Linked DNA regions of Homo sapiens: regions 1, 2, 4, 5 and 6 are each linked to region 3. The links are contacts of gene promoters, found by promoter capture Hi-C in blood cells and fetal thymus (Javierre and others, 2016). All regions are on one chromosome and are shown on one strand. Each heading gives the region's core, a stretch centred on a gene start or on the middle of the fragment in contact. The rest is flanking DNA. Distances are from core to core; before and after follow the strand shown.

Region 1 (4,176 bases), core at 916-3,415, 200 kb before region 3:
TTTGTTAAACACTGCCAAAAGGTCAAGAAAGATTATTTTAATTTGTTTCTCTCGTAAGCGTTAAGCTCCTTGAGAGTTAGTATTATTTTATTATTTATTTTTGTTTCCCTGGGGCTTGCCCTGTGACCCACACATAATAAATGATCAGTAAACTTTTGTTAGATTGAAGAAAGAGAGAAAGATGCATGGCAAGAAAGGCAGACATGCAGAAAGACAGTAGAATTTATGCTTGGGTCTCAAAAAATAAATAAGTAAAACAGATTCCCTTGAAGTTGACTGCAAACCCAGCTTGATCTTAGGAAATGTAAGGAGGTTCTTTCTGCTCCCTGTGTTTTACTCTTGAGCTAACACATTGATGGGGCTCCCACAGAACCATATTGTTGCCATGTAAGTACCTTCAGAAAACATTTTGAGAAGTGATATTCACCTGTGTCTGGTCAATCTGAGTCATTTTTATCTTTATTTAGGTCCTAGGTGATGACGAAAAGGGCAATTTGCTTTTCCTCGTCTATGACTCCACCACATCACCCTGAATGAGTTGATGGAAACGGGGGCATCCATTTCTGTGCCACTACAGTTCTGTAATACACTGTAATCACTCATAACGCTGCCCAGCCCCAGTTTCCCATGAGAGAGAAAGGTGACTACTGGCAGGAAGAGACGTCTAACCTCTTAGAGAAACCACCAGCTTCTTAGTCTGTTATTGTTTCTGCATTAAAGTGTTGCTGCGGGCCGGGTGCGGTGGCTCATGCCTGTAATCCCAGTACTTTGAGAGGCCGAGGCGGGCGGATCACGAGGTCGGGAGATGGAGACCATCCTGGCTAACACGGTGAAACCCCATCTCTACTAAAAATACAAAAAAAATTAGCCGGGTGTGGTGGCCCGCGCCTGTAGTCCCAGCTACTCGGGAGGCTGAGGCAGGAGAACGGCGTGAACCCGGGAGGCGGAGCTTGCAGTGAGCCGAGATAGCGCCACTGCAGTCCGGCCTGGGCGAAACAGCGAGACTCCGTCTCAAAAAAAAAAAAAAAAAAAAAAAAAAAGTGTTGCTGCTATCAGGGCCGCTGTACAGAATATCAAAGAAGGACATGTTTGACTCTGTTCTAAGAACGTGGAGCTCTTCTACATAATAAAAGAGAGTGTCCTTGAACTGGAAATTTTAGGAAATACAGTAATAGATGTAGTTGAAACAATATTTAAAATGTTATGCCATCCTGTATCATTTAGTTATACCAAAGATCAGCAAACTTTTTCCATTTCTATAAAGGGCCAGAAAGGAAATAATCTAGGCCTTCCTGGCCCTACAGTCTGTCTCAGCTACTCAATTCTGCCATTGTAGTGCAAAGCAGCCACAGACAAAATTTAAATGAATGAACCTGGCCATATTCCAATAAAATGAATTTGAATTTCAAATAATTTTTATGTGTCATAAAATATCATTCTTCTTTTCACATTTTCCAATCATTTAAAAATGTGATGGCCTGGGAAATAGCAAGACCTTGTCTCTACAAAGTACAAATAAAAATAGCTGGGTGTGGTGGCCTGTGACGAGGCAGGTGGATCACAAGGTCAGAAGTTCAAGACCAACCTGGCCAACATGGTGAAACCCTGTCTCTAGTAAAAATACAAAAATTAGCCAGGCATGGTGGCAGGCACCTGTAATCCCAGCTACTTGGGAGGCTGAGGCAGGAGAATTGCTTGAACCCAGAAGGCAGAGGTTGCAGTGAGCCGAGATTGTGCCACTGCACTCCAGCCTGGGCAACAGAGCAAGACTCTGTCTCAAAAAAAAAAAAAAATCTACTTCTTACATAGTACAGTACTGGGTATTATGGAGTTGAAGATAAAAGGATAGATAATTCATAAGTAGGTAGGTAGGTAGACTGACAGACAAAAGATCTAGTGACTGATAAGTTCTGTGAGAATTGTTCAGGTGTATCACAGTATCAATGTATAAATGCAGTCTTTTAAAGCAACAATAGGCAGTCAGACAAAACTAAGTTTAAATCTGAGCTCTTTTGCATCCCAGCTGCATGACCTTGGGGTGATTACATACACCATATAAGCTTCAGTTTCCTCTTTTTGAAATGAGGATAATAACACCTACCTCTCAAGGAGGTTGTGAGAATTAAATAAGATCATGTATGTAAATCAGCAGGTGTAGTACCTGGGAAATGGTAGACAATGAGTAAATGGTAGCTGTTGTTGTAGTATTACAGCAATATGAAGGTAGGTAACTTATTCAAAAGAAGCACACAACCAAAGGCAAAGCAGAGTAAGCTTGTAAGTCAAGAGGTCACAGACACATATAGAAACCCGCAAACCTGGGGGCTGAACACCTGGCCGAGAACATTTGGCTGAAAATAAAAGCAGAAGTGACATTGTCACAGGAGCATACAATAAGGCACCTGGCCAGTTGTCTTGCTTTTGTCTTCTCTAGCAACCAGCTGCTGGGTTGTCTAAGGAGCCCTACTTATGGGTCCAACCCCCAGCCTCCCCAGTACTTAAACGCTGGCTCAGACTGGAGAAAGTCACCATTAGTATCGGCCCCACCATTGTGCTTCCTTTCAGTTAGGTCAGCCATGGGGCCTCAGACATCTGTAGCTCCCTCCTATTGTGCCTCCCCACCCCTCTGCCCAATATGGGTTTCCACCTTGCCCTCAACACCTCAGTCTCTGGTCCTCCTGCCTTGTATCCCAGTCTCCCTTTGGATGTGGGTCCCTTGTCTTGAACCCCAGCCTACTTTACCATGATCCTGATGTCTTCTTTAGCTTAGTTCTGACCAGTCATCTTTGCAGAGGGCTGTATTCTGCTGCCTACACCCCTGCTGTGCTCTCCTCAAACCATGGGACATATGCGCCTTCCCCTTTATAGATAACCCATTGCTAGGGTAAGGCTAAACTGCCTGGTATTAACAGCTTCCTGAACTTTATGTGATTAAGAGACACAAGGTTTTGCAGAGGCCAGCTGCCCAGATCCAAGCTGGTTTCTGTATTCATAGCCCGTGCTCTAGGGAGCATCCCCCAACCCTGGTCTTGGCTCATACCCTCTCTCCACTGGCTGTATGCAGTCAACTACTCCTAGCATGCCTTGTGATCCTGTTATGGCAACATCAGTAATGCTTTCCCAATACAAATGACAAAATTATTGGCACAGGGACACGATATAGGGGTAATGGAGAACTTCAGCTTATCTGATATCTACTGACAGTCTCATTCTGCTGAAAAGTGATCGTCAAATAAAGTTGGCATGACTTAAATTTAAACTAATTGCTTACTGAAGAAGTACTATTCTGTGCTTAATTCTAACCAGCTAAGAAAAATATGTTGGCAAAGTAGAAGTGACAAACAACTTAAAATAAGTGACCAGGGCAGCTTTGAATTTGTAATAGCCAAAGAAGGCAATTCTGCACCTGCTAACCTGACATGAACGAGAGGAGCAAGTTAAGAGAAAATATGGACACAAGACTCCCTCTGGCCAGGAACTAGGAAATAAAGGGCAAGAGGAGTCATATGATTGGAAGTGTACATTTTTACAAAATCAGTGGTTTAAATGAAGAAAAGACGAGCATCCAAAAAAAGATCAGGCTAGGCACTGTGGCTCACACCTGTAATCCCAACACTTTGAGAAGCCCAGGCAGGAAGATTCCTTGAGGTCAGGAGTTCGAGACCAGCCTGGGCAACAAAGTGAGACTTCTGTCTCTGCAAAAAATTAAAAACAGCCTGGCACGGTGGCTCACGCCTGTAATCCCAGCCCTTTGGGAGGCTGAGGCAGGAGAATCACGAGGTCAGGAGATCGAGACCATCCTGGCTAACACAGTGAAACCCCGTCTCTGTTAAAAATACAAAAAAAATTAGCCGGGCGTGGTGGTGGCCACCTGTAGTCCCAGCTACTCGGGAGGCTGAGGCAGGAGAATGGCGTGAACCCAGGAGGCAGAGCTTGCAGTGAGCCGAGATCACGCCACTGCACTCCAGCCTGGGCGACAGAGCGAGACTCCGTCTCAAAAAAAAAAAAAGATAAATATAAATAAATAAATAAATAAATAAATTAATTAATTAATAAATAAAAATCCAGAAGAAAAAGATTAAAAAGATCAATCTGGTTGTTCTGGAAGTGTTCAATTAAGCTTGTACGTTTGAAGGACATGTACAAAAGGCAGGAGAAGGGGTATATAACGAGGCT
Region 2 (4,266 bases), core at 586-3,085, 140 kb before region 3:
AGAATAAGAAAGAAAAGCATCTGATGAAAATAAAATTATTATAGAAAACTATATATGCATAAACATGTTATCAGGTTTAAACATTAAAATGTATTGGTATTTAGTATGAGTTTAATGTTACTAGCTACTAACATCTATTAAAAATTAGGCTTCAGGCCAGGCGCAGTGACTCACACCTATAATCTCAGCATTTTGGGAGGCCAAGGCAGGAGGATCAAGTGAAGCCAGGTGTTCGAGACCAGCTTGGGCAACACAGGGAGACTTCATCCCTACCAAAAAGAAAAAAAATTAACTGGACTTGGTGGCGCACACATTTAGTCCCAATAACTCGAGAGGCTGAGGCAGGAGTTTGAGACCAGCCTGGCCAACATGGTGAAACCTCATCCCTATTTTTTTTTTTTTTTTTGAGATGGAGTCTCGTTCTGTCACCCAGGCTGGAGTCCAGTGGCACGATCTCAGCTCACTGCACCCTCCACCTCCTGGGTTCAAGCAATTATCCTGTCTCAGCCTCCTGAGTAGCTGGGACTATAGGCGCAAGCCACCACGCCCAGCTAATTTTTGTATTTTTAGTAGAGACGAGATTTCACCATATTGGTCAGGCTGGTCTCGGACTACTGACCTCAAGTGATCCACCTGCCTTGGCCTCCCAAAGTGCTAAGATTACAGGCGTGAGCCACCACACCCGGCCCCCATCCCTATTAAAAATACAAAAATTAACTGGGTGTGGTGGTGCGTGCCTGTAATTCCAGTTACCCGGGAAGCTGAAGAAGGAGAATTGCTGGAACCCGGGACGGGGAGGCTGCAGTGAGCCGAGATCGCACCACTGCACTCCAGCCTGGGTGACAGAGTGAAACTCCATCTCCAAAAAAAAACCCATCATAAATATGTTCATCAATAGAGTTAATAGAGTTCAAAACTGGTCTGGATTCAATATGTTGACAAAATGCTTCAAACCTGGATACCAGTCCTGCAGTTGACACTGTATGATTGAATTTGGGAAAAACAGGTTCCCATAGCTTTCAGGAATAGGGTTTGAAAATACTGGAATTGAAAAGCTTCAGTAAGAGAAGACAATGCTTACCACAGCCAAGCTGTCACTCTCTAATTATTTTTACTTTCACGTTATTTGGGCCCAAAGAACTAGATGAGGAATCAGGAGTTTACATAAACAAATCCCTGGAATATACAATTTAGCTTATCCTTTAGCATCTCTATTTTTCCTCCAGTTGAGTGAGAAGAAACCCTAAGACCAAACCTTATATCTTCCAGAAGCATTTTAAGGAATAACCATGTTTGAAAGATTTCTCTAATGAGTCATATAGAATTCTGTTACTATAGAGAGATTGTCTTCTTTGCTAAGAACAAATAGAGAATAAAGACTTACAAATAAATGAGTTGTTTTAAGAGTCTGTTTTATAGTGTCACCTTTTTGTGAAATTCCCCATTATACTGCCACATTTTAATGTTCTTTTTCTCTGGCCTGGGCTTAGAGCAATGATCTGCCACTCTCATGTATGAACTATGCACTAGAGTACAGAAATATACATAATCTTTGCCTAGGGTATAATTTTAGTGGGCTGACGCAGCAGCACAAGAAAGGCTCTGAAATGCCAGTGGGTTACACATGCATTGATCTTGACAAATTCTATGTGATCAACGTGACCATGGCATACCTTGTGACTTTTTTGGTTGGTTTGCTTAAATGTCAATCAAATTTTAAGATAATTATGAGATGAAATGCACTAGGGGACCTACCACACAGCATCAGGTGGATGTGGAGTGGTTTTGCTACTCATATAAAGTGAAATCCTGCAAAATAACACCCTCAAAGGAGCTGAATGTAAAGGAGAAAGGGGAAGACAATATCTTATCATTAAAAATCAATCAGATATTTACTAAGTGCCTCTTCTGATGACTTCTTACATTTCAGTGGCTAGCAGATCTTGGTTCACAAAATACTTTCACAGACATTATCTTATTTGATCCTCCCAACAACCGGTAAGGTAAGAGAGGTAATCTGAAAATGAGGAAATGGCAACTCTGAGACTTAAGTGCTTTCTGAGGACCTATACTCAGCTTGACGGGGGTGGGGAGCATTGGAACTGCCCAGGTCTCCAAATACTCTGTCCTGTAATCATTCCCTCTTGATCACCCACTATTGTACTCCTTCATTCTCTGTCTGGTCCTGTGGAGGAGTCCAAAGAAATTGGAAGGCGTAAATCTTGCCCTCAGGGAGATTCTGCTCTAGATGAGAGAATGCAAGTTTTCGTAATAAAAACAACAGAGAATTATTAAGTGTTAAACCGTATGAAACAGGCTACAAATATAGTAACAGATTATTTTCACTGGAAAATAAGATGCTATAAATTGTACCCAATGGCCTGAAAAATGTATGTGCAGGTGCCTGAGAATAGTGGTCAACTCAATGTTTCTGAAGTTTTCCAGCCAGGCAATCAATGTTTTCCTAGAGAAGTCTCATGGTTAATTCTTGACTAGGAGAAAAGCCAACAAGCACTATCTTGCCCAGCTCTTTGGTGACACATGGTTGCTTCTAAGAGCCAATTCTTGAATCTTTGAATTCTTTTTAGCCTCTGTTGTGCCTCAGACTGAGAACAGGAAGCTTGTGGGAACCAGTCCTGGCCCTGGTACCTTGTTGCATCCTCTAAACGATCAGTGGAGGCCACCGAGGAAATTGCCTGTTCACCTCCTCCTAGTTATCTAGTTTGCAAACGGAGTAAAGAAGAAGAGTTACTTTTTTTTTTTAAGCTGCCTTGAGGTGGGAGAATGGACACATTTGTTCTCTACTCAGAGAGACCATAGACTTCAAGGGTCTGCAGGGACTCTGTGATCACTTTTCTTTCTTTTTTTAGTTTTTTTAGAGACAGGGTCTCACTATGTGACTATTCACAGGCATGATCACAGGCATGACTACAGTGTCAAACTCCTGGGCTCAAGCAATCCTCCCAACTCCGCCTCCCTAGTAGCTGTGACTATAGGTGTGCACCACTGTGCCTGGCTTTATTTTCTAATGTCTTAATGCTCAAACCTAAAATTCTCCAAATCCATATTTGTTTCAGATGCAAAATTCTATTCCAAATATCTGTTCTTTGTTTTTTTCAGCAGAGCAAGCCTGTCCTTAGAAACAGCTGCAGGCCAGTCACTGTCTCTCCCTGTCTTTATCTTCCCTGCTGAGTGGCATGTTGCTTGCAAGGCCCCATGGGGACTTCCAAAGCCTTCCATAAATGACTGGCAGTAATACTTTTTTTTTTTGAGATGGAGTTTCGTTCTTGTTGCCCAGGCTGGAGTGCAATGGCGTGGTCTCGGTTTACTGCAACCTCCGCCTCCCGGGTTCAAGCAATTCACCTGACTCAGCCTCCCAAGTAGCTGGGATTACAGGTGCCCGCCACTACATCCAGCTAATCTTTTTGTAATTTTAGTAGAGACAGGGTTTCACCACATTGGCCAGGCTAGTCTCGAACTCCTGACCTCAGGTGATCTGCCCGCCTTGGCCTCCAAAGTGCTGGGATCACAGGCATGAGCCACCATGCCCGGCCAGCAATACTTTTTTAAAGATGCACACACCCAGCCAGGTTCACCAGTATTATGGATGTTTCTGTGTAGTCTTCTCCAAAATGCTAATTTGCTGAAGTGTCCATGGGAATAGGCCAACACGGATGGATCTACTGTATAACTTGCCTGCCATCAGGAAAGAGTCAACACGGCAGACACATGCTGGCAGAAACCCTGCTGGAGTTGCCCCTGAGCATTGATGCATACCACCCGAGAGGAGGAGAGGGTGGTGGGAGAAATCAGATCAGAGTTCAGAATGCACCGTAATGCTCTGTAAATGTAAGACTGCACCTTGCAGGAACTGTCAATGCCACTACCAATATCACTCACTTACATCAAGCACTTGAGAGCAGCTGCGAACACAATTCTCTGACTCCTAACCTTAAGCACGTGACTGGTACCACTGGACAACCTATGTTCTCAAAGATGCATCTTTTAAACTACTTTCCCTAGGGGCCCGGCACGGTGGCTCACACCTGTAATCCCAGCACTTTAGGAGGCCAAGGTGGGCAGATCACCTGAGGTCAGAAGTTCGAGACCAGCCTGACCAACATGGTGAAACCTCGTCTCTACTAAAAATACAAAAAAAAAAAAAATTAGCCAGACACGGTGGCACATGCCTGTAATCCCAGCTACTCGGGAGGCTGAGGCTGGAGAATCGCTTGAACCTGGGAAGCAGTGAGCCGAGATCGCACC
Region 3 (4,555 bases), core at 1,298-3,797:
AAGGGGAAAAAAGAGAAAATTAAAATATATTGTGATGTGTGCTAAGATAAAGAGGGAAACTTAGAGTGCTAAGAGAAATGTAAAAAATGTTACCTATCCTGTGTTAGCTTGCATAGGAAAAAAAAAATGAAGAAAACTGTCACCTAATCCCAGAGCAGGTGTTGAAGAAAGATTTTCGGCCAGACGCAGTGGCTCATACCTGTAATCCCAGCACTTTGGGAGGCCAGGCCGAGGCAGGAGGATCGCTTGAGCCCAGGAGTTCAAGACCAGCCTGGGCAACAGAGTGAAACCCTGTGTCTACAAAAAAATTTAAAAAGTAGCTTGGTGTGGTGATGTCTGCCTGTGGTCCCACCTACATGGGAGGCTGAGGCAGCATGATCCTTTAAACCCAGGAGGTCAAGGCTGCAGTGAGTCATGTTCATGTGACTGCACTCCATCCTGGGTGACAGAGTCAGAGTGAGATTCTGTCTCAAAAAAAAAAAACCAAAAAAATTTCCAGGACCAAACAGTCTACAGGATGAGCTGGAGTTAGCCAGGTAAAGAATGGGAAAGAATATTCCATGCCTGGCTTAGAGCAAGCTCCGGAGGCTAGAGAGAACAAGGACTCTATGGGAACAAATTCAGTGTGCTAGTTAGTGGGCAGATGTCAAAAGCGCAAAGGAGAAAAGTGGGGGGGGGGTGGTGGTGAGGAAGCTGGAGAGAAAAATCAAGGCAGGTTATGAAGGGCCTCTGTTAAACAGTTTAGAAGGGTATTGAAAGTCACCAAAAGGATTTAAGCTTAAGAAGAACTAATTAACATGTGTTTTTAAAAAAGATTGCTCAGGAACTATGTCTGGAAAAGAACAAGGACTTGACTTACATTAAGGTAAGAAGTGGAATTATAAAATCTGGGGCCCAAAGGAATTGGAGTGAGTTAATTCCTCCCCTTTAAAGTGTCTATTTTCTTCAAAGATAACCACTATATCATCTCTGGGGCTAACATTCTCTGGCCCTTTCCCACTGTCTCTGGCAGCTCCCGACCCAAGTCACTACAGTTACAGCATTCCCTTAAGGAACACATGCTTTTCCAACCTGCTGCAACACAGAAAGCACATGTAATTTTTTATTTTATTGTATTTTATTTGTTTTTCTGAGACAGAATTTCACTCTGTTGCCCAGGCTGGAGTGCAGTGGTGTGATCTTGGCTCACTGCAACCTCTGCCTCCTGGGTTCAAGTGATTCTTGTGCCTCGGCCTCCCAAGTAGCTGAGATTATAGGTGTATGTCACCACACGCAGCTAACTTTTGTATTTTTAGTAGAGACGGGGTTTCACCATGTTGGCCACGCTGGTTTCGAACTCCTGACCTCAGGTGATCCACCCACCTCAGCCTCCCAACGTGCTGGGATTACAGGTGTGAGCCACCGTGCCGGGCCTGGCCTTTCTATCTGGCTTTTTTGATTTGATATCCTAGTAGAGCCCACTATTAAAATTTCCATCTATAGAAACAGGAAGTCAGGAAAGGACTGGAGGGAATTTCGGCAGGTTAATGATTACAACGGGAAGAGAATACAATTATTGAGGTGTTTTGACTCACTTGGTCATTTCCTGAGAAACTCTTTGCTTGAATTTTTCCACTCTTCAGGTGAAGATGATGACACTGTCCAGGCTTTCAGGAGTCCAACCTCTTAGACAATAAGCGACATACTCTTTGGTAACTGCAGTGGCTAAGCCAAGGAATAAATATGCATAACTACAACAAACAGGTACTTGATGAGAACGTTATCTAGAGCTGCCAGATAATTTAGACCAAGTGCACCTTTTGTTGTAAGAAGCTGGTATGATGTCCACATAGTTTTCAGGGCTGCTGTTCCCTCTAAGAAGAAGGAATAGTCTTTTTCCTGAACTACTCTCTCTCTGAACTTTTAGGCTACAATTATGTCAGTTCAAAGTGGGCAGATTTGCCAACTGAAAAAATGATGACACGCAGCTTCCCAACTCTGTAAGGACTTTTCAGGTCTGTGGGTGAACGTCATTCCCGAGCAAACCAATGCCACAAGATTAGTAGGATGCGGCTCACAAGAAATGTTTACAATGAAGGGCATCACAGACTGCAAACCAAACAGGGTAGGAGGACACGGGACCATTTCCTTTTCCTGTCTCCATCTGACTCTGGAAGGCGGGGACAAGACATTTAAAACCAGGACCACTCCAGGAGGACAGCACATTAGCTACTGCCCTCCAGCTCCCTTCAGTGTTGTTTCCGTAAAGGACTTATAAACTGGCGAGGGCGGTGGCTTCCAAAAGCGCACAGGCGTCCCTTTTCCAACTTGGTCTTCTTATTTTCCCTTCCTGCTCCATAACTACAACGTGTTTCTGTTCGTAATCATCTCGGCTTTTCCTTACCTCTGCTTGTAAGAAAAGTCCTTTGCGCCATTCCCCTCCAAGCCCCAGGGAAGGGCCTGGAAAGCGCTTACACCTCAGACCCAGTGTCGGTCAGCCGTCAAGGAGCGAGCGACGTGGGAAACCCTGAGATAGGACATTGGCCCGGCGCTGGGCTCGGGTAACGATGCGGGGCGGGGAGCGCGGGCGGCCGGGGAGGGCGGCGGCCCCTTTAAGAGCAGGCCACGCCCCCTCCCCTCCTCCCGTTCGCTGCCAGCGGTCGGTGGCGGCCGCTACGGTGCTGACAAGATGGCGGCTGGCGGAGCTGTCGCTGCGGCGCCCGAGTGCCGGCTTCTCCCCTACGCGCTACACAAGTGGAGCTCCTTTTCCTCCACCTACCTTCCCGAGTAAGTGCCGGGCCTTGAGCTCGTGCTGCCCCACCCTTCCGCGTCAGCACGGTTGGGCCAGGGGTGCAATGGAGGGCAGCCGAGCCGAGAGGCCCAGGCGGGGCCTGCTGAGGGGGACGTGCGGCCTCCGGAGTCTTAGTTCAGCTGCTGAGAGCGTTGCTCGGCCTCGCTCGGGAAGGGGTTAGGGTCCGGAGAGCGAGCCCAGGGAGAAGGGGCGAGGTGTGTGGCGGATCCGGGGCGCGCACAGGAGAACCGGAAGCCCAGCGGTTCTGCGCTTGGGATTTGGGGGTTGAGGTTGAGGAGGGCTTGGGGGGCGGACGGCTCTGGGGCAGGAATCGGAGTTGGCGGGGCCCTGCCCGCGGGCAAACTACCCCGAATGTCTGAGGTCGTCCGAGGTGGTCGGCGTCGGGGGACAGTTCAGTCGATTGCTGCCGGGACAAAGTGTAAAGCCGAGGAGTGTCTATTCCAGAGTGGGGTCATTAAAAGTGATTAGCTCTAGAGTAGTGTTAAAAGTCACGGAAGGCTGAAAAGTTGTGGAATCCATCTGAATCCTAGCAGGCGGGGAGAACTTGTAGGATTGGCAGACGTTGTCTTTAATGCCTGGAAGTTCTGAAAAAGATAGGGAGTGGGAAGGAGGGACGTTACCGAAGAATTTCAGTATTACGGCTCATTAGAAGATGGGTTTGTATGGACACAGACACGTTTCCCAGTCCGGAAACTCAAACATAGAAACATCTGGCTTTAATGAATTTGATTTTCAACACCGGCTTTGTCTTGATCCCTGATTTAGGTGTTAAAAAAATTCAGTTGCATTGTTAGGTTTTTGTTGGTGGTGTTTTTTTCTCTAGCAAATTCCTTCTGAAATGCTGAAAATACTCTTACATAGTATCTTATTTATCTTTGGCTTATCTTTGAAAGGAGGAGCAGATCTAACTCCAATTTTACATGCTAGTGGAGGAACTGGCTTAGTAAAGGGTTAAGATCTGTGCAGATCCTGAAGAAAAGTGCTAGTTGTCCCTCTAACCATCTCACAGGACCGAAACGATTTTATGAACGAAACAAATTAATGAATAATATATTTTACTGAGTATTTTACTAAACAAAAAAGTGACTAGATCTGTGAAGCATACTCAAGTAAGTTTTCCATCTGTATTTGAGAAATTCTTCACATTTATCCAAATTTGATTTCACTGGTTATATCAATGAAGAATCTCAAAATGGAGCTGCAACTGGAAGAATCTGTCATGACTGCCAGCCTCCCATTTTATTCACCAGGTCAAGGGTTGGCATTCAGTAGGATCTGGCCCAATGAAGGGTGCCAAGTGACCTGTGGTTTGATCTGGCCTGCGTAGCCTATTCATGGCCATATCCCTGATTGATGCTGAAACCCAACTTTGAATTTGAGAGTGAGCCAGATAAACAGTCCAGCCATGTAGTTGGAGTTGAAATGTGGCCCTATGTACTTGACCTCTGATATTCTGGGCTATCTTGTTCTTGGATCTGAAGTTATTCAGCTTTTTTCTATACCCAGGCTAGGATTATGGACAGTTGGGAATTGGTGTGGCATTGTTTGATCTAACTGTAGAGACATTTTTCTGGTCTTGAATTAGCGTATTTCCAGGACGTCACTCCTTAAATTTTTGATGTAGGCCTGAGGCTTGGATAACACAAGTACCATCCGCGTTATCTGTTGTATAGACATTTTAAGAAAGTACATTTCAAGCAGGAAATGATTTAGTGGGATGGCAACTTTAATCTTTTGTGTCTTGTTACTCTGGCCCCTGGTTTG
Region 4 (4,536 bases), core at 373-2,872, 170 kb before region 3:
TAAGCCGAGATCGTGCCACTGCACTTCAGCCTGGACAACAGAGAGACCCTGTCTCAAAAAGAAAAAAAGAAAAAGAAAGTGACTAATGCTATGGACAGAAATAAGCAAGGGTGGGGGACAGGCTGATCAGGTTCACTTATGAAATATCTATCACACAAGCTAAGTGTCCATCAACAGATGAATGGATAAAGAAAATGTGGATACACACACACACACACAGACACACACATACAATGGACTATTATTCAGCCATTTAAAAAATGAAATCATGTCATTTGCAGCAACATGGATGGAACTGGAGGTCATTTTGTTAAGTGAAATAAGCCAGGCACAGTGAGACAAATATCAAATGTTCTCACTCATATCTGAGAGCTAAAAATGTGGATCTCATGGAGGTGGAGAGTAGGATGGTGGTTACCAGAGGCTGGGAAGGGAAGGGGGAGTGGGGGAGGAAGGGATGTTGGCTAATGGGTACAAACATAGAATTAGATAGTAGAAATAAATTATAGTATTCAGCAGTACAGTAGGGAAATTAAAGTTGACTATAATTTATTATATATTTCAAAATAGCTATCAGGTTTCAAAATATCACATGTACCCCAACAATATGTACGACTATTATATATCAATTTTCTTAAAGTCATAAACATTATAATGGGAAAAAAAATAGTATATACCACTGGCCAGAAATTCTCCTGAGCACTTTACATATGTTAACTATCTGAATCCTCATAACAAGCCCAGGCACTCTTATCATCGTCATTGTAAAGGGAAACTGAGGCACAGAAGAGGTAGGAACATGGCTCAAAGTCACAAAGCGAATGAGTAATGAGACCTGGGCTTTCACACAGGCTGCCTGGCTCCAGAGCCCGAGCCTAGCTCCAGAACACTTCCGTCATCCTAGAAAAAAAAAACTCCCATGCCTGGTAGAGTCACTCTCAATTCTCTCCTAACCACAGACCCTGGCAACCACTTATCTGCTTTCTGGCTCTATGGATTTGCCTAATGTAAATATTCATATAAATGGAATCATGTAATATGTGGCCTTTTGTGACTGGCTTCTTTCACTGAGCATAATGTTTTCAAGGTTCATCCATATTGTATCAGTCCTTCATTCCTTGTTGTGGCTGAAAAAGATTCCATTGTATGAATATACCACATGCTGTTTATCCATTCATCAGCTCTTGGGCATTTGGGTGGTTTCCATTTCTTGGCTATTGTAAATAATGCTGCTGTGTACCTTTGTGTACAAGCTTTTGTGGAAATGTACATTTTATAATTTTCTTGGGTACATACCTAGGAGAATTATTCAGTTGTAAGGGAACTCTATGTTTAACTTATTTTATTATTATTATTAATTATTATTATTATTATTATTATTATTATTATTATTATTATTTTGAGACAGGGTCTCACTCTGTCACTCAGGCTAGAGTGCAGTGGTGCGATCTTGGCTTACTGCAACCTCTGCCTCCCAGGCTTAGCCTATTCTCCCACCTCAGCCTCCTGAGTAGCTGGGACTATAGGCATGTGCCACCACACTGTGCTTTTTTTTTTTTTTTTTTGGCATTTTTTGTAGAGACAGGGTTTCACCAGGTTGACCAGTCTGGTCTCAAACTCCTAAGCTCAAGCAATCCACCTGTCTCAGCCTCCCAAAGTCCTGGTATTACAGGCATGAGCCACCGCACCTGGCCCTATGTTTAATTTAACAAATCAACTTTTGATCACATGTATTACTTAGCTAAGCCTCTCTACTCAGAAGGGGAGAAGTATAGGAGCAAGTGGTTGCTTTAGCAAATGTCCTATCCTGTCCTATCAATATGATGGTGTCTCCTTCTTGGGGTTTCATAAGTCAGTACCCTGAAGGTCATTGACACTCCATGTGTGTATTTTCTATGCAGAACCCCCACGGAGGCCACTTTTGGTCGCCTTCTCCATACAATAGATGGGGAGTGACCATAAGGAAGTACCCCTTAAAGTAACTAAAGAGCTCAAGCTTGAGCAGTGGAACCTCTCCAGGTACTTCTAAGAGCAGGACAGACAGGGTCAGTCTAGAGAAGTGAATGCTTTGAGAAGATTACACAGTCCTCTAACAATAACATCCATGATGATTTTGTAGAATTCTCTATGCCTAGCATAATGCTAAATGAGTCACAGCCTTTTTCCTAGACTTGCACTCTCCGGTATGGTAGCCACGGGTCACATGTGGCTATCAAGCGCTTGAAATATGGTTAGTCTGAATTAAGGTATGCTATACAGGTTGAGTATCCCTAATCTAAAAATTCAAAATATAAAATGCTCCAAAATCCAAAACTTTTTGAGGACTATGATGCTACAAGTGGCATTGTTGGTGGTGACAAAGCCTGCTGTTCTCTGCTATTGCTGCTGTTTAGCAAGTGATACAGGTATTCTTTTTTTATTTTTTATTTTTTTTGAGACGGAGTCTCGCTCTGTCGCCCAGGCTGGAGTGCAGTGGTGCGATCTCGGCTCACTGCAAGCTCCGCCTTCCGGGTTCAGGCCATTCTCCTGCCTCAGCCTCCCGAGTAGCTGGGACTACAGGCGCCCGCCACCACGCCCAGCTAATTTTTTGTATTTTTAGTAGGGACGGGGTTTCACCGTGGTCTCGATCTCCTGACCTCGTGATCCGCCCGCCTCGGCCTCCCAAAGTGCTGGGATTACAGGCGTGAGCCACAATGCCTGGCCGTGACACAGGTATTCTAAGGGATGCTGCTGTGCTGATTAGTAACTCTGAACACATTGTTTTTTTCACTATTTTAATAGTATGTTATATATACATATATACACATATATATACGTGTGTGTGTGTGTATATATATATATATATATATATATATATATATATATGTAACAGAGTGATATACAAATATATATATATATATACACACACACACATATATATATGTATATCACTCTGTTACCTAGGCCGGAGTGCAGTGGCACGATCTAGGCTCACTGCAACCTCCGCCTCCTGAGTTCAAGCGATCCTCCTGGGTTCAAGCAGTTCTCCTGCCTCAGCCTCTGGAGTAGCTGGAATTACAGGCGTGCACCACCAAGCCCGGCTAATTTTTGTATTTTTAGTAGAGACGGGGTTTCATCATGTTGGCCAGGCTGGTCTCGAACTCCTGGCCTCAAGTGATTCAGCCACCTGGACCTCTCAAAATGCTGGAATTATAGGAATGAACCAACACGCTCATGGTGTGTTATATTTTTTACTGTTAAGTACTTATGTCTAAATAAACGTGAGAAAATGATTGCTTATCAGTAGCACATAAATGAGCGTCAGGAATGATGTTGCCAAACAAGCACAGATTGTCCCATGGGTGGTTGAGATAGTGACACCTTTGGTTTCTGATCATTCGATTGATAAAAACTTTGTTTCATGCACAAAATTATTAACAGTATTATATAAAATTACCTTCAGGCCATGTGTATAATATGTATATGAAACACACATGATTTTTGAATTTAGACTTGGGTCTTATTCCCGAGATATCTCATTTATGTATATGCAGATATTCCAAAATCTGAAATCCGAAATACTTGTGGTCCCAAGCATTTCGAATAAGAGATGCTCAACCTGTACGTGTGAAATACACATTGGACTTCGAAAACTTAGTGCAAAAAACAGAATGTAAAATACTCATGAACATTTTTTACATGTTGAAATGATATTTTGGACATGAGTTAAGTAAAATATAGCACTAAAATTAATTTTGCCTATTTCTTTTTACTTTTCTTAATGGGCTACTAGAAAATGTTAAATCACACATGTGGCTCACATTGTGGCTTCCATTATGTTTCTATTGGACAGCACTGGTTCTAGACAAGTCCTCACAGTTATCTTATCAGCTGGATGGTATTATCATCCTTCTATTATGGGTGAGGAAATTGAAGCTTAGAGCGCTTAAGTCAATTACCTATGATCATACAGCTGTGGCTTAAGCGCAACTCTGTCTCCAATTCTGAATTCTTACCCATTGCTCTAGGCTGTCTCCCCATAGTCCAGAAATGTAACCCAAGTGATAGAAAAATGGTTAGGATCATTAGCTGTGGCAAAAGGCTGTTTTCATATCTTCATTGTAGAGCACAGGAAAAATGGTCTATGAAGTTCTGTAAAGTAGAATTTAGGGTGCAGTTGGAGGAAATTGCCTATGAGAAAGTTTCTTAAATACTAACTCCTGTTTGTAATGGTTCGGGGCTCACCCACTGAGGATCGAAGGTAGAAGGAACTATTTCAGAGCTTGCTTTCATTTCTACGATTCTATCACAATTGACATTAGATTCACAGGTCAGCCTCTGCTGTAACATTCAGATTGAGATGGAGTAGACTGAGATGAATGAGTGCTTCATTTTCATCCCTTTTCCCTGTAAAGTGGAGGGTTTTAATTTCATCCCATTTCATTCGAATTTGTGAAAACCTCAATAGGACATTCTTCACAGCAATCCTGCCCTCTTCTAAGTTTCAGTGGAGAGGAGAGACAAAACTGTCAAGGAGAGAAACCATTCTCTGAAATA
Region 5 (4,243 bases), core at 1,030-3,529, 180 kb before region 3:
CAGATGTGGTGGTGTGTGCCTGTAATTCCAGCTACTCGGGGGGCTGAAGCAAGAGAATCGCTTGAATCTGGGAGGCGGAGCTTGCAGTGAGCCAAGATCGCGCCACTGTACTTCAGCCTGGGTGACAGAGCGAGACTCCATTTCAAAAAAAAAAAATTAAAATGATAATAATAATTTAAAAAAATTAGGCCGGTCGCGGTGGCTCATGCCTGTAATCCCAGCACTTTGGGAGGCCGAGACGGGCGGATCACAAGGTCAGGAGATCGAGATCATCCTGGTTAACACGGTGAAACCTCGTCTCTACTAAAAATACAAAAAATTAGCTGGGCGTGTAGGCGGGCGCCTGTAGTCCCAGCTACTCGGGAGGCTGAGGCAGGAGAATGGCGTGAACCCGGGAAGCAGAGCTTGCAGTGAGCTGAGATCGCCCCACTGCACTCCAGCCTGGGCAACAGAGCAAGACTATGTCTCAAAAGAAAACAAAAAAGGAATTGCAAGCAGAGGGCAATTAATAGAGGTAGACTTCACATCTGTCCCTTGTGGGCTTCTTTTCCAGAGTTCCATATCCAGACTCTCAAACCATGTTTTGGGATCATCCAAACATTCCATCCTCCTGACTCCATAAACTATTGGATTCATAACCTGCTCCATGCTTGAAAACATGGGGATTGGAATTCGGTAAGTGTTGATGTTTTAGTTTTTTCTTTCTTTAGTTGTCAAAAAAGTACTGTACCTATATAGTAATGCTTTTCAAATTCTTCTCTCTGGAGTCTTCATCAGAAGATGTGACTGGAGTCCTCACTAGTCTAGTTGTTTTCACAATGTTTGAATATGCTATGTGTACAAAGAAATGTTGTGAAGTCTTCTGAGGAATTCCATCCTTTCACATTTTCTCCTCTGTTTCATGAGTATTTAAATTCTTTGGCTGGGCGCAGTGGCTCATGTCTGTAATCCCAGCACTTTGGGAGGCCGAGGCCGGCAAATCACGAGGTCAGGAGTTCGAGACCAGCCTGGTTAACATGGTGAAACCCCATCTCTACTAAAAATACAAAAAATTGCTGGGCATGGTGGCAGGTGCCTGTAATTCCGCTACTTGGGAGGTTGAGGCAGGAGAATCGCTTGAACCCAGGAGGCAGAAGTTGCAGCGAGCCAAGATCGTGCCACTGCATGCCAGCCCAGGCGACAGTGCGAGACTCCATCTCAAAAAAAAGAAAAAATTCTTCATCATTGCTCTATTGATATTTTCTAAAGTGACTTCACATAGAGAAAAGTGGATTTTTGGCTGGGCACAGTAGCTCATGCGTGTAATCCTAGTGTTTTGGAAGGCCAAGGCAGAAGGATTGCTTGAGGCTGGAAATCCAAGATCAGCCTGGGCAACATAGCAAGACCCCATCTCTACAAAAATTTAAAAATTATCTAGGACTACAGGTGGCATGTGCCTATAGACCCAGCTACTTGGGAGGCTGAGGCAGGAGGATCACTTGAGACCAGGAGTTCAAGGCTGCAGTGAGCCATGATCACAACACTGCACTCTAGCCTAGGCAACAGAGCAAGACCTTATCTCAAAAAAAATAAAAATAAAAATAAAAGTGGATTTTGAGAATCAGAAAGACTTGCTGCCCACTCTGGGCCAGTTTAATAATGCAGGACATGTGTAGTTCAACCATACTCCAAAAACAACTCTGTTTTAGCCATACTGCCTATCGTCAACCCCACTGCATCCCCACTGTCAAATTTCTCTAGCCCCATAACTGATTTTGTTTTTCATAACACTTCTTTGTTTGTTGTCTACCTCCTTTCCTAGAATGTAAGCATTATGAGGGCAGGCAATTTTTTTGTTCAGCACTAGATGCTCAGCACTTGGAACAGTAACTGGTACACAGAAGGCACTCAGTAAATATTTTTTGATTGAATGAATGATGTATTTTAAAAGTTTTTCTTTTGGCCGGGCTCAGTGGCTCACACCTATAATCCCAGCACTTTGGGAGGCTGAGGCGGGCGGATCATGAGGTCAGGAGATCGAGACCATCCTGTGAAACCCCGTCTCTACTAAAAAAAAATACAAAAAATTAGCCGGGCGTGGTGGTGGGCGCCTGTAGTCCCAGCTACTCGGGAGGCCAAGGAAGGAGAATGGCATGAACCTGGGAGGCGGAACTTGCAGTGAGCCAAGATCATGCCACTGCACTCCAGCCTGGGTGACAGAGCAGGACTGTGTCTCAAAAAAAAAAAAAAAGTTTTTCTTTTTAATTTTTATACTTTTAAAAATAGAGATGAGGTTTTGCTATGTTACCCAGGCTGGTCTTGAACTCCTGGCCTCAAGCAATCCTCCTGCCTCAACCTCCCAAAGCGCTGGGGTTACAAGTACATTTTTGAGCCACCACACCTGGCCCTTGTGTTTTGTTTGTTTTTTTCTTTTTAAAGAGGCTGATGCAGGCCGGGTACAGTGGCTCACACCTGTAATCTCAGCACTTTGAGAGGGCGAGGTGGGCGGATCACCTGAGATCAGGAGTTCAAGACCAGCCTGACCAACGTGGAGAAACCCCGTGTCTACTAAAAATACAAAATTAGCCAGGCGTGGTGGCACACGCCTGTAATCCCAGCTACTCAGGAGGCTGAAGCAGGAGAATCGCTTGAACCCGGTAGGCAGAAGTTGCAGTGAGCCAAGATTGCACCATTGCACTCCAGCCTGGGCAACAGGATTGAAACTCCATCCCCCAACCAGCAACAACAACCACAACAACAACAACAACAACAACAAAGAGGCTGATGCATATTCGGATCTCCAGGGATCTAATGAAAATCTGCTTTTTCCCCGAACACTTATATCGATGACTAAGACAATAACATTGATGGCCTGCCGAACAAATTTACAGATGACACACACTAGAAAGAATTACAAATAGGTTGGAGGATACAATCAGATTCTCTCCCCACCCCCAATCCTGACAAAATGTAATAATGAATCATATCAAACAATATAGAGTTTAATGTGTACCAATATAAAGTACTCAAAGATCCTCGAATTGTACAGGTACTGAGTGGGGGCGAGGTGGCTTACAGCTACACACGGCACGAAGATTTACAGTCTCCTGTTGATTGTAAGAAGATGAGTCAACACAGTGGGATGTAGCTTTAAAAAAAAATCAATCTTTTGTTGTATTAATAGAAATGTAACGTTCGAGAGGGGAACTAGTTCTCTAGTACTCACTGATGATCAGACCACATTTATTGTGTTTTATGAATTCTGGGCTTCAGACATTCAGAGACATTGATCAACAAAGGATTATATGGGAAAAATAAAAATGATAATAAGAAATCTGGTGCACAGAGTTATTCAGAAATAACAAAAAGATCCAAGGTTTTATGTAGGTGTGTAAGGGGGATGGTGATAACTAGCATATGTAGCTACCTTTCAAAGTTTGAGGTCTATCCGGCAGAGGAGAGATTTGATCTCTTCTGGGTAATCCCAAATGGCAGATTGAGGGCCAATGAGTGGAGATGTAAGCACGTACATTTCAACCCATTAACATTGGTCAACTGTTAGATTTGCCTAGCAGACAAATGGACAACCACTGGAGGTAGTAAATTCCCTGACCCTGGTGCCCGGAAGTGGGGCAGTCATGCCCCATTCACTGGGTACATTTGTGACAGAAGTTCAAACACTAGAGTGAGGAAGTGAGGAGAATAGATTTGTTTATAATAGCAAACACATAGTGAGTGTGTACTGTATGGCAAACACCATAATACGTGATTAATGAGGTTGTCATTTCTAATACATCAATCCCACTAGCTCATTTTACAGATGAGAAAGTGAGGCTTAGAGGGATTAAGCAATTTGCCCAAGGTCTTACACCTTGGTACAAAGCAGATCTAGGATTTGAACCCAGGCAGTCAGATCCCAAACCTTAATTATTATTCTATGAGGACCCTAAGGTGGGCATGGTGGTACACGCTTATAGTCCCAGATACTGGGGAGGCTGAGGCAGGAGAATCACTAGAATCCAGGAGTTCAAGACTGCAGTGAGCTATGATCATGCCACTGCACTCCAGCTTGGGCATCAGAGCGAGACATTGTCTCTAAAATAAGTAAATAAAAATAAAAGTAAAGTATAAGGACTTTCACTTCTAGAAAGCCGTTCTTTCCCACCTTGAGATCCTATCACTCTAATGAAATAATCAAACCGAGGAGTTTATCTCAAAGGGTGGATGATTCTATAGTACATAGATTCCCTCTATATGTAATATG
Region 6 (4,039 bases), core at 475-2,974, 250 kb before region 3:
CACTCTCTCAAACCCCAAGGTAAAAAGAGGAAGTCGTTTTCCATCTGGGTCCCAGATCTAGTCCTTTCAGGTCAAAAGTTTTCTCCTCAGCTGCTGGACTCACCACTTAACCACTCAGGCTTCCCCCTTCCAGAGGCTTCCCTCTCTGTTTTAGTCCATTTTCTGTTGCTTATAGAATACCTGAAACTGGATAACTTATAAAGAAATGAAATTTATTTCTTACAGTTCTGGATACTGGGAAGTCCAAGGTTGAGAGACGGTATCTGGTGAGAGCCTTCTTGCTGGTCGTGAGTCTCTGCAAACTCCGAGGCAGTGCAGGGCATCACATGGCGAGGGGGCTGAGTGTTGCTCTCTCTTTCTCTTCTTACAGAGCCACAAGCCCCACTCCCATGACAACCCATTAATCCACTAACCCGTTAATCCATTAATCCATGAGTGGATTAATCAATTCATGAGGGCAAAGCCCTCATGACCCAATCACCTCTTAAAGATTCTACCTCTCAATACTGCCACACTGGGGATTAAATGTGAACGTGAGTTTTGGAAGGGACAAACATTCCAACCACCGCACTCTCCTTGAGCATATTCTCAGCCTCACTTCTGTACTGTTTAGCATGGATTCTTATTCCTTGCTGAAAGTCAGTTTTCTTCTACAGCTCTGCCCAGCATCACCCACTCATCTGACTCAGCAAGAGTCACACAAATTGCATATTTTAAGAAGATCCTTTGCGGTATCTTGAGCATTCATCTTCCCTTTACATTTGAATAAAACAATAATGCATGGACTTCTGATTACAGTTTAAGCTCCTTGACACTAGGTAGGCAAATGCCCCCTTTTTGTCCATGACTTTTAGGATCAGAAATTTTTCACCACAGACATTAACACAGTTGCCTTTAAATTACGCAGTCTGAGCAAGACAATAGCTTTAAAATAAAGCAGAAGAGATTTTATAGTTTCTAATCACCTGTATACCAAAACACTTAAATGAACCACTGATGGGGCTTGTCAAATTTTTAATTCTGTCAATCTGCAAGGAAAAAGAAAAAAGAAAATGGAGAGAAAACAATTATCCACCCTCGAAGATTTGGTATTATTTGCCTGAGGGAAGATTTTAGGATGTTTTAGAGTCCCTCTGATTTATTGTTCTTTGTTTTCATCATTACATTAGAATGTAATCTGATCCACTCTGATGGTCCCAGAGAACCATGATCCTTTCTTTCCAAAACATCCACTACAAGACTGGACCTGGCTTTTGGTACTCTTCCTTCTTTAAACTCATTCCAAAAAAAGGCTTCAGAGAATGACTTTCTAAAGTCAACACAAACTTCAGACTTTGGGTCTGTCTCACAATTGGTCACAGAGTGCAGATGAAACTCAAAGTCAGTCGTGCTCTCAAAGCAAAACACTGAACAAAGATAAGCCCAGTCTTCAAACAACACGCAAGCCCACTGGCTTACTTCCGTAAAGGGCCCAAGTTACAGAAACGCCTGTTCTGTAAATGGCTTTGGTTACTTTCTCAGGATCATCTGCTCAAACAGTGATATGTCAGTCACTGCTAAGATCTTTAAAGAAAAACATCTTTCACTGGCACAGGATAGAGCATTCAAGAATTCAAAGAAACATTTGTAGATTAAAAAAAAAAAAAAAAAAACCTTCAGCATGGCAAATCTCAGCCTGTGGCTTTTGGCTTCAGATTACTTGCATAATACTTTGTTTTTGTGAGATCCTCAAAAATGAGTGGTTATATATTTTTCATTTTAAAAAGTTTCTTCCTTTCCTATTTGTGATTAGAATAGAAACTGTTTAGTTTAAAAAAAGTATTTTCCTTCAGAAACCTATCCTACAAATCAACGTAGTTCTGTCAACGACCCCAGATAAATATTAAGTTGGACAGACACATCAAACAACATTAAACAAATAACTATGTGAACTGAATTAATTAGTTACACAATTAATTCTCTACTTTTGGCAAATGCTTGATTCTGTTCTTAAAAGGTTAAATACAATATAAGAGCAGTTTAATGTCATGAGGAGCCTTGTATATTTGCTGAACACCAGGAAAACCTTAAAGCACAACTTCATTAAATTCAAAGCAAAGAGATTTGACTCCTTCAGAGTGACATAATTAGAGAAAGGACTAAAGGGAGAACTGAAGGGTCCTAAAAAGAGCATGGCCTTGGGTATTGGGAAGATCAGGATTTGAATCCTGGCTCAGTTATTTGCCAGCTGTGTGGTCTTGCACAAGCTACATAAACTCTCTGAAAATCAGTTTATTCAGCTGTAAAATGAGAAAAATAATGTCACTGCACAGAATTGTTACGGAGATTCAATGAGTTAGATGAAGCACTTAGAACCAATGTGGCACCTGACACATGCTCGACAGGATGTCTGTGATTGACGTGAATTCCCTTCTTCTAATTCCCTTCCCTGTGTAAAACTGATGTGGCAGATCGTAGGACTTTGTAATGGTTGTAAATAGTTGGTTTCTTGAAAAAAAAAAAAAAACTATATTCAAATTATATTTTTAAGATGCTGAAGGAAATCCTGACAGGTTACAACATGGATGAACTTTGAATACGTTGCGCTGAAACAGGCCAGTCACGAAAGGACAAATATTGTATGATTCCTCTTGTATGAGGTTCCCAGAGTAGTCAGAAAGTAGGATGGTGGTTGTCAGCAGATGGAGGAGAGGGAAATGGGGAGTTGTTTAATGGGTACAGAATTTTTTTTTTTTTTTTTTGAGATGGAGTCTCACTCTCGTCCAGACTGGAATGTGGTGGCGTGATCTTGGCTCACTGCAACCTCCACCTCCTGGGTTCAAGCGATTCTCCTGCCTCAGCCTCCTGAGTAGCTGGGATTACAGGTGCGCACCACCACGCCCTGCTAATTTTTATATTTTTAGTAGAGACAGGGTTTCACCATGTTGGTCAGGGTGGTCTTGAACTCCTGACCTCGTGATCTGCCTGCCTTGGCCTCCCAAAGTGCTGGGATTACAGGCGTGAGCCACCACGCCCAGCCAGAGTTTCAATCATGGAAAGTGAAAAGGTTCTGGAGATGTATGGTGGTAATGGTTGCACAACAATGTGAATGTACTTAATGCCAAAAAAACCACTCAAGAATGATTAAATGGTAAAGTTTATGTTATGTATATATTTACCCCCGCTACACACACACATACTGAAAAGTGCTTGGTATTTTTAAAAATCTTACAACAAATTCTTTTGAAAAAGTTTTGTTGTTGTTTTTGTTTGTTTGAGACAGGGTCTCACTCTGTTCCAATGGCTTCGTATTCCTGCTCATCTCAGCTTGACCTCTTGTGGCTATCTCTCCTTTTGAAACTGTTCTTAAATGGCTCTTTTCCCGAGTGTGCCCTTTAAATGTTGGAGTGTCCCAGAGTCCTCTGCATGACCCTCTCTCGTTTTGCTCAGCAAGCTCTCCTTATATAATCTCACCCATTCACACACATGTGAATATGTTTCCGTCTGCTGGTTCTCTCCATTTGGGTGCCCCATTCTAAAATGTCCAGAACCAAACTCAATGTTTCCTTTCTACTCTCCCATTCAATGGCTATAGGTTAAAAAAAGCTTCCTTCTCTATTCTTCCATCCCTCCCACAACTGTTATCTGCAGCTCTGGTATGTCACGCAAATTCCGCCTCCCAAAATCACATGCAACTTAGTCTTCTCTGCCACATCGCCGCTGTCAAGGCCTAATCCAGGCCCTTCCCCGTGCTCACCTGGACTTTGCAGCAGTCTCCTAACTCGTCCATTCTCTTTAGTCTTCCCCTTCCAGTCCATCTTCCACACTGCTGCCAGGCATTTTTCTAAAATGTGAATCTCCGCCATTCCCCTGATTTTAAAACTTCCAGTGGTTCCCTACAGCCAATGGGGCAAAGGCCAGTCATTCAGCATTACACACATGGCCCTCTCCAATCTCATTTCCTGCTGCTTTCCCACTTCCCAACGCCCCTGAACCTTAAGCTCCATTACAACTTCTCAAGAAAATGACAATTCCCACCTCTACAGCGTGGTACATGCTG

What was found. The method cuts DNA at HindIII sites, captures the fragments that hold promoters and counts their contacts. A CHiCAGO score of 5 or more calls a contact.
Region 1: a contact is called between a fragment that was not itself captured here and the fragment with the promoter of MKLN1-AS in region 3, in 17 of 17 cell types (naive B cells, total CD8 T cells, total B cells and 14 more). The highest score is 22.2, in naive B cells.
Region 2: a contact is called between a fragment that was not itself captured here and the fragment with the promoter of MKLN1-AS in region 3, in 9 of 17 cell types (neutrophils, monocytes, total CD8 T cells and 6 more). The highest score is 10.5, in neutrophils.
Region 4: a contact is called between a fragment that was not itself captured here and the fragment with the promoter of MKLN1-AS in region 3, in 1 of 17 cell types (neutrophils). The highest score is 8.2, in neutrophils.
Region 5: a fragment that was not itself captured here is called in contact with the fragment with the promoter of MKLN1-AS in region 3 in 7 of 17 cell types (neutrophils, naive B cells, total B cells and 4 more); the score reaches 13.6 in neutrophils.
Region 6: a fragment that was not itself captured here is called in contact with the fragment with the promoter of MKLN1-AS in region 3 in 17 of 17 cell types (naive B cells, activated CD4 T cells, naive CD4 T cells and 14 more); the score reaches 17.0 in naive B cells.

Annotation. Positions count from the first base shown.
Region 1 is chr7:131,122,010-131,126,185 of GRCh38, forward strand. It overlaps a transcript of MKLN1 not described here. Among named protein-coding and RNA genes, the nearest start is that of LINC-PINT, 14 kb to the left of the region's middle. RefSeq lists an enhancer at 2,168-2,327 and a silencer at 2,468-2,547. The HindIII fragment of the contact is 214 bases long and covers 2,059-2,272 here.
Region 2 is chr7:131,181,272-131,185,537 of GRCh38, forward strand. It overlaps a transcript of MKLN1 not described here. Among named protein-coding and RNA genes, the nearest start is that of LINC-PINT, 73 kb to the left of the region's middle. The HindIII fragment of the contact is 1,565 bases long and covers 1,054-2,618 here.
Region 3 is chr7:131,325,232-131,329,786 of GRCh38, forward strand. It overlaps MKLN1-AS (MKLN1 antisense RNA), which reads right to left and starts at 2,548. Exons shown (of 6, transcript NR_125364.1): 1 at 2,384-2,548; 2 at 1,575-1,704. MKLN1 (muskelin 1) reads left to right here and starts at 2,645. Exons shown (of 18, transcript NM_013255.5): 1 at 2,645-2,766. The coding sequence starts at 2,669. RefSeq lists enhancers at 2,410-2,986, 2,681-2,980, 2,987-3,563 and a silencer at 2,471-2,630. The HindIII fragment of the contact is 3,998 bases long and covers 776-4,555 here.
Region 4 is chr7:131,159,136-131,163,671 of GRCh38, forward strand. It overlaps a transcript of MKLN1 not described here. Among named protein-coding and RNA genes, the nearest start is that of LINC-PINT, 51 kb to the left of the region's middle. The HindIII fragment of the contact is 743 bases long and covers 1,252-1,994 here.
Region 5 is chr7:131,142,267-131,146,509 of GRCh38, forward strand. It overlaps a transcript of MKLN1 not described here. Among named protein-coding and RNA genes, the nearest start is that of LINC-PINT, 34 kb to the left of the region's middle. The HindIII fragment of the contact is 6,889 bases long and covers 1-4,243 here.
Region 6 is chr7:131,075,560-131,079,598 of GRCh38, forward strand. The region is part of intron 2 of LINC-PINT (long intergenic non-protein coding RNA, p53 induced transcript); the gene reads right to left. Among named protein-coding and RNA genes, the nearest start is that of LINC-PINT, 32 kb to the right of the region's middle. RefSeq lists an enhancer at 3,319-3,463 and a cis regulatory region at 3,391. The HindIII fragment of the contact is 3,718 bases long and covers 1-3,583 here.